Regions from separate parts of the Homo sapiens genome. Here region 1 is linked to region 2. Evidence: promoter capture Hi-C in human tissues and cell types (Jung and others, 2019). All regions are on one chromosome and are shown on one strand. Each heading gives the region's core, a stretch centred on a gene start or on the middle of the fragment in contact. The rest is flanking DNA. Distances are from core to core; before and after follow the strand shown. Region 1 overlaps SLC16A12 (solute carrier family 16 member 12). Region 2 holds the start of IFIT1B (interferon induced protein with tetratricopeptide repeats 1B).

The links. Contacts are between HindIII fragments. The study calls those that stand out against the background at their distance.
Region 1: a fragment that was not itself captured here is called in contact with the fragment with the promoter of IFIT1B in region 2 in 1 of the 25 tissues and cell types used here (aorta).

Annotation. Positions count from the first base shown.
Region 1 is chr10:89,525,120-89,532,974 of GRCh38, forward strand. The region is part of intron 2 of SLC16A12 (solute carrier family 16 member 12); the gene reads right to left. Among named protein-coding and RNA genes, the nearest start is that of SLC16A12, 6.5 kb to the right of the region's middle. The HindIII fragment of the contact is 4,199 bases long and covers 4,334-7,855 here.
Region 2 is chr10:89,373,169-89,380,399 of GRCh38, forward strand. IFIT1B (interferon induced protein with tetratricopeptide repeats 1B) reads left to right here and starts at 4,888. Exons shown (of 2, transcript NM_001010987.2): 1 at 4,888-4,972. The coding sequence starts at 4,968. It also overlaps a transcript of LIPA not described here. The HindIII fragment of the contact is 9,233 bases long and covers 1-7,231 here.

The DNA.
Region 1 (7,855 bases), core at 5,183-7,682, 150 kb after region 2:
CTGAGGCAGGAGAATTGTTTGAACCTGGGAGGCAGAAGTTGCCGTGGGCCGAGATCGTGCCACTGCACTCCAGCCTGGACGACAGAACGAGACACCATATCAAAAAAAAAAAAAAAAAAAAAAAAAGCTAAACTGAAATTTCACCTTAACAGAGCCTGCATTAGCAGTCAATTAGGTATACTATCATGCAAGAATTGACAAAGAAAGCAGAATATGCCAGGAACATTCTGAGATACCAATTTGGGTCCATCAGTTACTGAGCAAAACTTGAAATTTTAGTTAGATCTTCATCTGTAATAAAATCAGAATATATGGTTGTCTAAATTTGATCTTTTTTTGGATATGGAAGATAACGAAAGAAGTCAATCTCAGCAAGTAAGAAAGGAAGGAAAAAATGTATGGGGCTTAATTTTGATAAAATGACGAGTCCCTTAATCACTGGAACACTTCAATTATCCGGTAAAATAATTTTAACAAGTATCTTATTTATGAGTATTTATTTGTTCTTTATCTAGGTACTCTGCCTTTTTCTAAGAGTGTTTTTGAATTTTTTAATTAAGTTAGTAGCTGTTGCCAGGTGTTCCTCATGACTAAATTTACCAAAGAGCCGGCTGGCATTGAGGGTGGAGTCTGTGTCAATAAAACACAATTAGCTACAGACCCATGTGGAGTGGGGATTTGACCTAAACGTCCATGGGATCACACCCAAAACCTAGCAGTCACTATTCAAGTTCCACAAGGGAGAACTAAGATACGGGGGAAATGTCTGGATTTTTTAAGGTAAGAAACCGTGATATTTCTTAACAAATAATTTTATGTCAAAAAATGCCACAACAGCTGTCTGAATTGCCAAATTCACTAGGTAACCACCCAAGTTTATCCTCTCATTGTGCACTTCAACCTGCATGTAGAAGGGGCCCCAGTGATTTGTGCATGATGCAGGGTTTTCAAAGAAAGGATAAGCATCCTTGGCTGGTTTCCAAGCCCTGTCCTCTGACCCCATCATGCTACCCCCCGCCCCCACACACATATATACCCATGCATCAACTCTTTTGGCAGTTATGTACAACTGTACATGGGGGAATTATAAAATTAAAATATGAAATGCAAACTTCATTAACCAAAATGCACATTTGGTTAACGTGAATACAGAGAACGGCACTTAGCCCAGCATAGCTATTCCCCAGAATTTGATCTTTGACCCATCTCACCCCTCTCTAGAAACACTCTCCTGGGGAGACATATAACTTGAACTGAGTCCCTATACTGATAACTCCCAAGCTATAGTTCTTGCTGTAAATATCTAACTGCTTACTTGGTTATCTCTCCCCACAGGCATCAAAGTTATAAAGTTATTAAGACCGAAGATTTCCCAGGCTTTTCAACACAGATCCGCAGTCGTAGCTTGAAACAATTAGGAGCTGCCAGAATATAAAACAAATTTGGCAAGGAACAGGAAGCAGAAACTTAGAAACATGTGGCCCAATCACTTACAAACTTGTTTTGGCCAAGAAATCCTTTGTTCAAATAAAATCTTACTTGGAAACCAAATATGTGAAATCAAGCACAGGACACCTGCTCAGATAGCAGAAGGGGCCACCAGAAAGGAGCCCAAAGGTGGAAGCTGGACATCGGTCCGCCACCCATTGCCCTCATGCCCTGTAACACAGCTCCAGAGGTGCTCCCTGATACTCCCAGGAATGTGCAAAATACAGTTTAAAATCTACTGGCCAAAATCCATTAAGAAATCAAGAACAGAACACCTACTCAGATAGCAGAAGGGGCCACCAGAAAGGAGCCCAAAGCTGGAAGCTGGACATCGGTCTGCCACCCATTGCCCTCATGCCCTGTAACACAGCTCCAGAGGTGCTCCCTGATACTCCCAGGAATTTGCAAAATACAGTTTAAAATCTACTGGCCAAAATCCATTAAGATTTTTATTCGTGGATAAAAATTTATTTATTTTTATTACAAAATCAACAGTTAAAGTGTAATTTGGGGAAGCTAACTGGTAACAGTGGGTGAGAATCTCCATGAGCATTAAAACCAAATAAGAACAAATTAAAAAAAATAAGGGGCTGAGTAGGGCGTGGTGGCTCATGCCTGTAATCCCAGCACTTTGGGAGGCCGAGGTGGGCAGATCACTTGAGGTCAGAAGTTTGAGACCAGCCTGACCAACGTGGTGAAACCCCGTCTCTACTAAAAATACAAAAATTAGCCGGGTGTGGTGGCAGGTGCCTGTAATCCCAGCTACTCAGGAGGCTGAGGCAGGAGAATCGCTTGAACCCAGGAGGCAGAGGTTGCAGCAAGCCGAGATCATGCCATTGCACTCCAGTCTGGGTGAAAGAGTGAGACTCCACCTCAAAAAAAAAATAATAAAACTAAAAAAATAAGGGGCTGGCATGGTAGCTTACATCTATAATCTCAGCACTTTGGGAGGCTGAGGAGAGAGGATTGCTTGAGCTCAGGAGTTTAAGTCCAGCCTGGAAAAACATAGTAAGACTCCATTTCCATTTCTACAAAAAAAAAAAAAATTATTTATCTGGGCATGGTGGTGCCCACCTGTAGTTCCAGCTACTTTGGAGGCTGAAGCAGGACTGCCTGAGCCTAGTAGTTCAAGGCTGCAATGAACCATCATTGCACCACTGCACTCCAGCCTGGGTGACAGTGAGACCCCATCTCTTAAAAAAAAAAAGAGAGAGAGAGAGAGAGAAAAGAAAAAAAGAGGTGAATTCTAAGTAGGAGTAGTCTACTAGATAAATCTTCAGAATCTGTATCAGTCACCTCACCACATTTTCTCAAAAACAATAAATCCTAATGACAAGGAAAGCTCTAAAATTAATCATACTTTGTTGAAGTCACATAGGGCAAGGTTTAAACTCCTATCTTTCTTACGTAAGAGTCCTATATAATATCTTTCTTATATAAAAGTCTGGCCAGGCATGGTGGCTCATGCCTGTAGTCCTAGCAACTTGGGAGGTTGAGATGGGAGGATTGCTTGAGCCTGGGAGGTCGAGGCTGCAGTGGGCCCTGATAAGGCCACTGCACTCCAGCCTGGGTGACAAAGAGAGACCCTGTCCCAAGATAACCCTTTTTATTTAATTTGATGCAATTGAATAAAAACAGAAAGTTTTCAGAGAAAGTTTGAGTATTAAGGTTGACAACTCAATCAATTTAAAGAAACACATAATAAAGGACACATCTGTAAGTATTTTAGAGGAAACACATTATTGTTGTAGAGTAAAAGGCCAAATTATTGTCCTAAACAAAAATACCCATATGGTACCACAATCATCAAAAACTTGAAAATAGTTGGTTAATTAATTCATTGGTTGACAGTAATTATATCAATTGTGTTGATTTGGTTGTTTTGACATCTTATACACATAAGCCTAGTGAATTCCACAGAGAAGAAAAAAAATCACTGAACATTCATTCAACCATTGGGAAAAGCTTTCCATATAATGAATGGGCCCTCTATAGAGAAAATGCACACACAAAAAATTTCCATTATATGTTAAGAATATACCACACATGAAATTTTATGTTTCAATAAAATTTTTTTCTAAAGAGGCACAAAATTATTATTACATATGTCCATAGTTTCTCAACCCTGGCTGTACATGAGATTCACCAGAGAGATTTAAAAACTATCAATACCCTAGCCCTGTATCTCAGACCTACGGAATCAGAATTTTTCAGAGTAGGACATTGGTACCAGTTTTTTTCCTTCCTCAGGTGATTCTAATGTGTAGGTGGGGTTGAGAACCATTGATACAGAGTCTTCAATCAACTGATTTATGGATACTAGGTTGTCAGGTGTCAACCTGAACAGACCATTTATTTTTTATATCATTTATGCCTGTGAGTTTGGGCTACCCCTATTCATAACTATTTAATAATGATGATTAAGGCTGGTTTTTGATAGTTGTCTGGTTGAACTATCACTGCCTGAAGAAGCAGCATTCTGTTCTCCCTTATGAGATTTAACTTTGTCGTGAGTTTTTATTTTTTTGGTGGTTCCTTCGGGGGCTATGAATGTGGTTGCTTTGAAGTTACAGGTTCAGAGAGCTGAAATTTCTGTTTCAAGAAATACATCTGGTTTCAGTAGATAAATATGAACTCACTCCCATGGAAAGTATTCCATCAAGCAAAGTGGAATCCCAAAATAAGTAATTATGGCCCTAATTTATAATATGTCAAATAAACCACAAAATGATTAATTGTGCTCAGGAATATTTTGAAAAAAACATAGTCTACAAATGATTTGGGTGATAATTTTTAAGTATTGGTATAGTTAACACTTTATGTAGCTACTTTGTTTACATATATGAACCACCGAGCCAGAAGACGGTGTTAGGGGGAAACAGTTGCTGATTTTTATGGTGATTCAGAAGTTGGGAAACTGAGTCCCAATTTCCTTTACAGTCTTTTTTTTTTTTTTTTTTGAGACAGTCTCTCTCTGTTGCCCAGGCTGGAGTGCAGTGGCACAATCTCGGCTCACTGCAACCTACACCTCCCAGGTTCAAGCCATCCTCCTGCCTCAGCCCCCCTAGTAGCTGGGATTACAGGCACGTGCCACCACGCCCAGCTAATTTTTGTATTTTTAGTAGAGACGGGGTTTCGCCATGTTGGCCACGCTAGTCTCGAACTCCTGACCTCAGGTGATCCACCCGCCTCAACCTCCCAAAGTGCTGGAATTACAGGCATGAGCCACTGCACCCGGCCTCCTTTACAGTCTTAAGTGACTAATGCTATATCTATAAGAGGCTCATAGACATGGAATTTCTCTCTAGATACAGAAATGAGTTATTTTCAAAATATACAGGGTACCCTCAGAAATGGAAACATTAGAAGCTCTCAGCAGTAAAGTAATCAGAAGTCAGGAAAAGCAGAGTCAAAAAGTTGATACAACATATTTTGAACATTTTGTTTCAATTCCTTTCATAAACAAAAAATTCATTCACTAATCTTTGGATATTGGGTCATGATTGGAGTTCTATGTTATTTTTCTTGGTTAATCCACATCCAGATTTCCTGCTTCCATTTCTTAAAGAGGATCAGGACCTTATTGGAGCTTGTGAAAAAACCTGAATGCAAAATCATTCTAGAAATTTTTACTGTACTCTTCAAATCTCTTATCACTATGCCACACCTAAGTACTCATCCCTCTTCCTTTTGTAATTTGCTTGTTCATGTTGCTTTTTAAAAAGCTTTATAGTCCTTTTATAAATTGAGATAAAATTCACATAAACTTCACTATTTTAATACTTTTAAAATGTAAAATTTGGTGGTTTTTTTTTTTCTTTTTTTTCTGAGACGGAGTCTCGCTCTGTTGCCCAGGCTGGAGTGCAGTGGCGGGATCTTGGCTCACTGCAAGCTCCGCCTCCTGGGTTCATGCCATTCTCCTGCCTCAGCCTCCCGAGTAGCTGGGACTACAGGCGCCTACCACCACGCCCGGCTAATTTTTTGTACTTTAGTACTAGAGACGGGGTTTCACCGTGTTAGCCAGGATGCTCTCGATCTCCCGACCTTGTGATTTGCCCGCCCCGGCCTCCCAAAGTGCTGGGATTACAGGTGTGAGCCACGGCGCCCGGCTGGTGGTTTTCATATATTTACAATGTTGTGCAACCACCACCCCATTATCTAATTCCAGAACATAGCCGTCACCCCAAAAAGGAACCTTGCATCCATCATCAGTCACTCTCTATTTCCCCTACCCCACTTCCCTGGCAATCACTAATCCACTTTTTGTTCATATGCATTTGCTTATTATGGACATTTCATATAAATCATACAACATGTGGTCTTTGTATCTGGCTTCTTTCACTTAGCATAATGTTTTCAAGGTTCATCCATGTCGCAGCATGTGTTGATATATTTTTTTTAACATTACTTACTTTTATGGGTCCATATAGCGATCAACTTAGTTTTCACAGAAATACCATTCTTTGTTTAGCATTCATATTACATCGGTTTAGGCAATATTTCATTAAATCACAAAATTACAATAGCATCCTGGCACTTTGGGAGGCCAAGGCAGGCAGATCACCTGAGGTCAGGAGTTCGAGACCAGCCTTGCCAACATGGTGATATCCTGTCTCTACTAAAAAAAAAAAAAGTACAAAAATTAGCCAGGCATGGTGGTGGATGCCTGTAATCCCAGCTACTCAGGAGGCTGAGGTGGGAAAATTACTTGAACCAGGGAGGCGGATGTTGCAGTGAGTCGAAATACACCACTGCACTCCAGCCTGGGTGACAGAGCAAGGCTCTGTCTCAAAGAAAAAAACAAAAATACAATAGCAAAGTACAACTGGCATAAACTGGACTGTAACCAAACACCGCTGTAAGCATGCACCTGACCTAGTAACAGCCAAGTATACAAATTTATTAAGATGATAGCTATTTCCCACAGCGGTCTCTGTGTCTGAGCAACCACCAGGATGTGGTTCAGAGGAGGAGAGCATTGGTTAATCCAATGAGTTGTTTCAGTGTTGGGCAGTATTTCATTAAGCAGAACAGAGTCACATGCATGTAGAGGGGCAGAGAGGTGATAAGTGTCTATTATATGACCCAACACAGCCTCAACTGGTTCCCAAGAGGAAGTTCTCTACGTGTCTTCAAAAAGAGGCAAGGATGTGCTGCCATAAAGATAGGTATATCCTCTGCCTCTATAAAAGCTTTACCGTGCTTTACCATCTTTCAAGAAGCAACTCCAATGGGCCCTCCTCTACAAAGTCTTCCCTAACCCTCAAATCTTCACAGTGCCTGCCTGCTCTCTCTTCTTCCTTTTAATTCCCAAAGTACTTATGCATCTCTTATGGTAGTTTGAATCGGTATGATAGCTAGCCATACAATGTCCTCTCTTCCATACCAGGATGTAAGCTGCATCAGAGGCATGTTCTGTGTCTTTACACGTCCTGCTGTCACCAGCACCAGAAAAGAGATGCTCAAAACACAGTCTTCACACAAATCCTTATACAAATCTTTTAATAAGAAGTAGAAGTTCAATAAATATTCATTAAATTAATAAATGAATGAGCACACTAATTAAATAATTAATTAATTTCATGCAACATCTTACCTGGCTACAGCAATTAACCCTACTCGTCAATGCGCGGTAAATGAAGGAAGGATATGTATCTGATGGGGCACAGTGGTGGGTGAATGAAGAAAAAAAAATCAGCTACTCCAGGTGCCTAGCATGCATCAGAAATTGTGACTGTTCCCCAAATGTTCAACAGACACCACCTTCAAACAGGACATTGTTAGATAATGACACTTTCTGATGTCCTTTGATGTAGAGCACATTAAAAATATTATCAGAGGGAAAATCTTTCTGTTCAAAATCCCCCAACCTCTTCAACTGTGTATTTAGTTTTCATCAATTAAATTATTATATCATTTCAATGGGTGACTTTTTATATACACTGGAAAGGTACTCATAAGAAAATAGCTTCCAAATTGGCAATTTTTAAAAGCAAAGCAACTGGTTAGGTGAGGAATGCATAAACAACCCCAAAAGCGGCACTGAATACTTTTCTTTGGCTGTATACGACTGAAAAACTGCCAAGTTCATTTCGATAAGCCTTTGTTAAAAACAATAAACATGCCTGAGCTTGCAAACTATGCTGTTTTGAAGAAAAAGCAATTGAGAGAATTAGAAAATGCTTAAAACTGGAATGTCTAATAGTCTATGAATATGGAGGAAAGTGGGGGACAAAATGTAAAGTGAGACAAAATAACAACAGAACACCATCTTCATAAATAAATAAAAAGCAACATCTTATAAACTAATTTAATTAGTCTCCAATACTAACATGGTACCACTAACACTCTTAAGAAAACAAATCAT
Region 2 (7,231 bases), core at 3,638-6,137:
TAAAAATACAAAAAACATTTGCCGGGCGTGGTGGTGGGTGCCTGTAATCCCAGCTACTCGGGAGGCTGAGGCAGGAGAATGGCGTGAACCCGGGAGGCAGAGCTTACAGTGAGCCAAGATTGCACCACTGCACTCCAGCCTGGGCGACAGAGCGAGACTCCCTCTCAAAAAAAAAAAAAAAAAAAAAAAACTGGAACACGTGGGAGTCAGCCAGAAAAGTAAATCAGAGTAGCCCAAAGATAGCCATCAAGACCCCTGAGGTGGTATGAAGATTACCAGGACTTTCAGAGCAGAGAAGTTCCTAGTAGCTGAGTATTTTCTCTGTGGACATGATTGGTGCAAGTTTGCAAACATGAGTAGTCTCAAAAGCAAACATCAGACACTCTCTGTAGAGGTCAGTGCACTTTGACCTACATCCTTTCTGGTATTGCATGGATTATTAAGGTGCACAAGGGGAAACCAAAGCATAGAAAAATAAAGTTCTAGACTCAGAGCCTCATAGAAAATAGGTATTTATTAGGAATTAGTCTCTGATCCAAAGCATTTGGACCTGAAAGGGATCCAGGGATCATTTGGAAAAGTATCTGTGAAACTTTAATGTACCAACAAATCATCTGGACATGTTAAAAGGCAAGTTCTCATTCAGGAGATCTGTAGAGGGGCCTGATATTCTGCATTTCTGGGCTTTTAGTAGTTGAGGATGCCACTGTAACAGACCATATCCTGAGTAGCAAAAATCTAGTCTAGTGGTTTTAAACCATGCACAAAAAAATCACTTTGGGATTACTTTTTTCAGAAAACTTACTGATAATACTCATGCCTGGGCTTCACTTCCAGAGATTCTGATTGATTGGGCTGGAGATTGGCTCAGGCATCTGCATTTTTAAAAGACTTCCAAGGAATTTTACAACCTTGCAGCCCAAGGTTGTAAACCACTGTTCAAGGCCAACCTTTTTCTATACCTGATGAGGAAACTCAGTGTTTAAGTGAAATCAAGTTCACTCTGCTAGTTCGTCGAACACAGAGCTGGTTCTGGAATGTTGATAGTGGTTAAGTTTTATTTCTCCAATGCTTAAGTTTCATTTCTACAAGTAGGCATCCTGCCCATTAGAAATGAGTTTCCCTCTCTAGTTTCCATTGTTTTTTTCCTATTTGTAGACACAGACACACACACACTCTCTCTCTCTCTCTCTTACACAATGTGTTGGCTGTTTCCTTATTGTTGCTCTGTCCTGTGTGGTTCATGGCTGTATTTATCCAAGGACACACTGGGCCAGATCCTGAATACCTAATCAGTTGAGCCAGAGCCTCACAGAACCAGGACTGCTGCCAAATTCAGTGACCACATGACAAACACTCACTCTGTTTCTCTGACACGCTGTTACTAGCAATAATTTTATGCATGAAAATTCCAAAGTCATACTACTCTCAGTGTAAGCAGCTCTCCTAATGTTCATTTCAGTATTTGCTTATGTTTCTATCCCTTTTAGAGTTGATTCAGGGCTAGTGCCTTACAGAAGATATTTGTATCTGAAAACACAATTGGCCTCCTAGAAGCTTCCCATCTGATACAGAACTGGAGAGAGAGAGCTGAGAGGAAATGAGTCCCATTCCAAAATCTCTTCTCCCCCTACACAGGTCCATCCTCACTAGGGAGAGGTTGAATGCCTGCTGCCCAAGAGGTACTGCTGGGCTCTATGTGTAGATATGGCCAGGGCTCCCTGACCTGAGCCTGAGATGGGAATATGTAGATTGCCCTGGCCTGAAGCTCAGAACAGGACACCCCTATCTCAGCAGCTGCACAGTCAGATATGACATGAAACACCTCTCTCTCAGTGCCCACTGGGAAAAATTGTAGTCTGGAAGGGCTCCAGCTAATGGTCAGCACAGACTGCACAGATAAGGGGACTTGTCCCACACTGTGAAAGCAACACTCACAATTACTGAATGCTGTTAAATGAGACATGCTTTCCATGCAATATCCCACTTCATCTCAACATAACCCCATGACGAAAGTCCTAGTGCTATTCCGATTCCATGGGTAAGTAAATGTGGCTTAGAAATGTGAACCAACTATCCCAAGATCACATGTCCAGTAAGCAGCAAAGTCCATTAATGACCCCAGGTAGTCTGATTCCAGGTGGCCTTCACTACTGAGCAACATCATCTTGTGCGCACAAAGACAAGTAAAGGTAAAGGGTTTTAATAGTTCTCATTATGCCCAAGCTGCAGAGCAAGAAAGGAAACCTCAGAAGAAAACATCCCATTGGCCCCAAATATAGAATAATGGTTGTTCTATGATGGGGTGCTATTGTCTTATACTCAGAGTACACAACCCCAAAATAAACAAGATGGCAAATATCTGTGCAGAACCCCCTCCATCAGGTGATTCTGTCACCTGACAGGTGTAGAAGGTTTTTTCTAATGGCCTTGGTTTGCTCAACCCCAGATGGAACAATGTTTGACTAACAATCATTCTTCCCTTTCAGCAAACTTGGTCTTCCACAGCAGGGCTACGTGGGCCTAGTTTCCTTTCCCTCATTCCCCTGAATGGTTCTAACCTCCATTTCTGTGCTGTCATTATGCTTAGAGAATTTTTCTGCCTACTTTTATTATTAGAGTATACTCAAGGAATAAAATGGGGATTCTCATTACTTAAGTAATGTTGAGATTTGGTGGGTTTATGGAAGAATACATGGATCTAAATGATATCCTGTGCTTGTAAGATGTCAAGACGGGCCAGGTGCAGTGGCTCACACCTGTAATCCCACACTTTAGGAGGCCAACACAGGTGCATCACCTGAGGTCAGGAGTTCGAAACCAGGATGGCCAACATGGTGAAACCCCATCTCTACTAAAAATACAAAAAAATAGCTGGGTATGGTGGTGCACACCTGTAGTGCCAGCTACTCTGGAGGCTGAGGCATGAGAATCACTTGAACCTGGGAGGCAGAGGTTGCAGTGAGCAGAGATAGTGCCACTGTACTCCAGCCTAGGTGATACAGCGAGACTCTATCTTAAAAAAAAAAAAAAAAAAAAAAGAAGAAGAAGTCAAGAGGTCCAGCACATTCTTCTAGGAACTTGTCTCATGCGAATGGGGAGATGTGGTCTATCTCAAGTTGCCTAAATCCTTCCTTGAATAGACGTGGAGATGGGTTTTTAATTCACATAGAGAGAGAGATTATATACTATACTCTTTCTTAAGCATATTCTTTTCCTAAGATGTCTGCTCTCATTTCAACTGTGAATGCATAAGATCTTATGTGACGTTCCTTTTCTGGGTAGTCCTTCTTGTCTATATAATTTTTGGCTTTAGAAAGGTCAGGAGCAGTAACTGGAGCAGTAACTCAGAAGTTCCCTGAAAAGAAAGAGAAGAGCTGCCCCAGACATCTGAGAGCATCATTAACACCTGTGACCATGATGGGTCAAGACAAAATACAAGGCCACTCTGTAATCAGGTCTGAGTGCAGACAAAAATACGAATATTTTCCAACTGGATTCGAAAATAATCAAGCAGCCCCTTAAACTGGCCAATATGAATGACTGCTGCTTCCTTTCAAATTACACCTGTCACCTTGGTCTAGTCTTCTCTTTTTCCAGACACAATTTAAGATACCCAATTATAGAATCATTTCTGCTTCCTGACAGCCTCCCATCCCATGCCCATGACCACACCTTACCACATGGGAGCCTGGGAAATATAGTCTAGTTACAGGCCCAGGACAAAGAAGAAATAGCACAGCGAGGCTACAGTTTCATTTGGTAATTATGAGAAGACTGTAATGAAGTTAATAACCCTACCTTGAAATGCTCACTCAGAGGGAAATCGCTCTCAGTCTTTGCCCTTTTGCTTATCTTGGTGCACTACCCCTACAAAACCAAGATCCAGAAACGTACAGGATGACATTGTAACAATTCACAAGAGGAATTCAGAATAGCAGCTTTCCAAATTTTCCTTTTTCTCTGCTAATTGTGTGGGCAATTACATCAGCCTTGGGATCATATAAATTTTTCATTAAACATGTGAACATTGTTTGATTGACTCTCTGATGGTTGTTGCTTTGTAACAGATAATCTTCAAAATAGTAGAAACAGAAGAAACATAAGGACAACTCAGAAGAACTATGTGAATTTGGATTTAGATTTTTAACCCCCATGACCCCATCACATTCTCTGACTACATTGCATATGTTTCTCTACTGACCAGCTCAAACATTGTTGTTTGAACCACTAATGGTGAACAGTAAAGATCATCAAAACAGTCAATATGCTTGAATAGGCTCCACTATAGCCAGGGTTGGCAGTAATGCAAATGCTGCTGGAGGATGTAACCAGTATGGGACCCTTCTTATAGACCAATATCTCAAAATTGAGGAGTTGTTTTGCCTAACACAGCCCCACAGAAGAAGACCTAACCATCTGCAACCTCATTCTTCCACAAATTGACAATGACTTTCTACAGTATTCTTTTAGGCACAAACCACTGACCCTGGTCTAAGGAGCTTCCATTGTAGACGTCCCTGGAACCACCTGGCGGGATACATGTGATAGTAACAAGTTTGACAACAGAGTCTGACATGATTCACAAAAATATACGTTCCTGTCTGCCACTGGTTTTTCCACAACACTGAATGTCATCATAAAGTCCAGTTACCCTCTATCTCCTACACCACATTGACTCCAGCAAGGGAATTTGCGTATCAAAACTGCTTCTCACACACCCATCCTCTTAGCTGCCAAAACTCAGCATGTATTTGTAATCAAAGCAGAGACAGCCCTATTCCTCTGTATCATTTTCACCCTGCCAATTCACTAGGCATCAAGGGTGTAAAAAACTGCCTGGATATACCTCCCATATATAAGCACCATGCTTATCTGAGAAGCCCTAGAACTCTGTGGATGAACCTTGAAGGAGCCTCCAAGCCTGAACCAAAGCACTACAGATCACCTGCTATCTTCATAGCACCATGAGGTAAAGTCTTTCTCTGCTTCACTGACCTTATTTCTGCACACTTTGAAATTCTAAAACTTTCCTTAAGGGCCAATTTTTTGACAGGCCTTCTCCTAAGGGAGCTGTCCCACTGGTGGTTCTGACCCTGATAGGCACCCTCAACATGATAACCAAGAAGAGTTTAATAAGGGGGCTATTTAAGACGATATGGGCAAAGTTTAGGGAAATCAACAGGAAATGGTGCTTGTTGGTTGCAGGGCAGCGGGAAGAGGCGTGTTGGTTTACAACAGTGGTAACATGATAACCCTGGGCCTACAGGAGCAAGAGGAGAGAACCAGACCCAAGGAGACTCTAAGCTATAGCTGTAGGGGAGGGGCTTCTCAAGAGGCCTTTGGTGAAAAAATCACTGACAACCTCAAGCAGAGCACAGTGGGAGCTTAGGAATTAATTCCATGACCTTCACCTCCTCCTGCAATTTAATATCTGGCTGGTGCTCCCCAGTGGGCCAACCCCAGTAGAAAGTAAAAAATAAAAGAGTTTTGGAGTTAATAAAGTCCATAGAGTCAGCTTCCAAGCACAGAGCATGGTGAAGAATGTAGGAAAGTAGATTCAGAGGGGCAAGATGAGAATATATGTAGAGGCAAGTTTCCTAACTCCTGTTACAGAGCTCGCTTAGTAAGGGTAGCTGGCTTAATAAAAGCAGCAATGCTCTTAAGGAAATAAACGAGAAAGCAATCTTATTTCCAAAGATGTCATTTCTGTAGCACTTTCTAATAGAGGGACAATTACCCAGGCAACACTTAAAGACTGTTCACCAGGGAACAGAGGCCTGAGCCTAGAGAGGAGACTGGCCCGGGGACCAGTCAGGGCAAGAGCATTGAGATCCTTTTAATATACAAAATACTCTTTTAGGCATCCAGGTGAGAAGAAGCAGCTATTTTTATTTGATAAATTGGTTAAATTCACGTGGGAAAAAGAAGCTACTTTCAGAGATGGCTGTTTTTCTGTTGTTTGTTTGTTTTTGATACCAAGTCAAATTTTGTGATTACTGTGAAACTATGAAATTGTGATTACTATGAAATTTGCTTTTCACTGAATTAACTGTTCTCAAAGTGTGGTCCCCTGACTAGCAACATCAGCATCACTTGGGAAGGTAGCAGAAATGCAAATTCTCAGGCCCTACCCTAAACCTGCTGACTCAGAAACTCTAGGGTGGGGCCCATCAATCTGTGTGTTATAAGTTTTCCAGGTGATCATGTTGCCTGCTAAAATTTGAAAAACCATTATACTAGATGTTAGAAAATAAGAAATTTTGTAGGCATTGTGATATGTTTGTTCCACAAAATATATATTTCTTTTTTTCCTGGTGTAGTTAGAACTGGTGACCTGCAGAAAATGCTTTCACTCAAAAGTATTCTGACCTGCTAGAGTTCTCCCATCTGATGTTGCAGTCAGTGGGAGAGGAAGAACTTTACAGAAAAAGGGGCTGCTCTTTTGAGATCCCTTTCTAGCAAACATGTAGACCTGTCTTGAGAAGAAATTATAAATGAAGGATTGCAAAAAAATTCACCACAAGAGTACCCAAGTCTCTCTTTTTAATATAACGGGCTCCTGGTCATAAGATGTTAGTTGTGGCTGGGCATGGTGGCTCACACCTGTAATCCCAGCACTTTGGGAGGCCGAGATGGGCAGATCACGAGGTCAGGAGATCAAGACCATCCTGACTAACAAGGTGAAACCCCGCCTCTTCTAAAAAATACAAAAAATTAGCCGGGAGTGGTGGCGGGCGCCTGTAGTCCCAGCTACTCAGGAGGCTGAGGCAGGAGAATGGCGTGAACCTGGGAGGCGGAGCTTGAAGTGAGCCGAGATTGCACCACTGCACTCCAGCCTGGGCAACAGAGTGAGACTCCGTCTCAAAAAAAAAAAAAAACAAAAGGTATTAGTTGTGTCTGCATCTGTGGAGTTGACAGAAAGCAAGCCTTTCATTCCCTGCTGCCTTGGTAGCTAGTCTATGTGAGAGGTTTTGCAATGGCCTGGGCGTATGTTTCTAGAAGCCACTGACCTGAGGTGGCCTAAGGGGAATCTGGACTATCCCAGACTGAATAATGCCCACATCAAAATCCTCCTGATCCCACTGGTTCAGGGACAGAGGAGCAGATTGAGCTCCTCCTTCCATTCATGCTTATTGATCAAGACAGCTTAAGTGGAGCTTAAGTGGACAAGATCCAGGGAAATGCCTCACAAAACATGGTGACGAGTCCCTGTCTGCCACAGGCATAC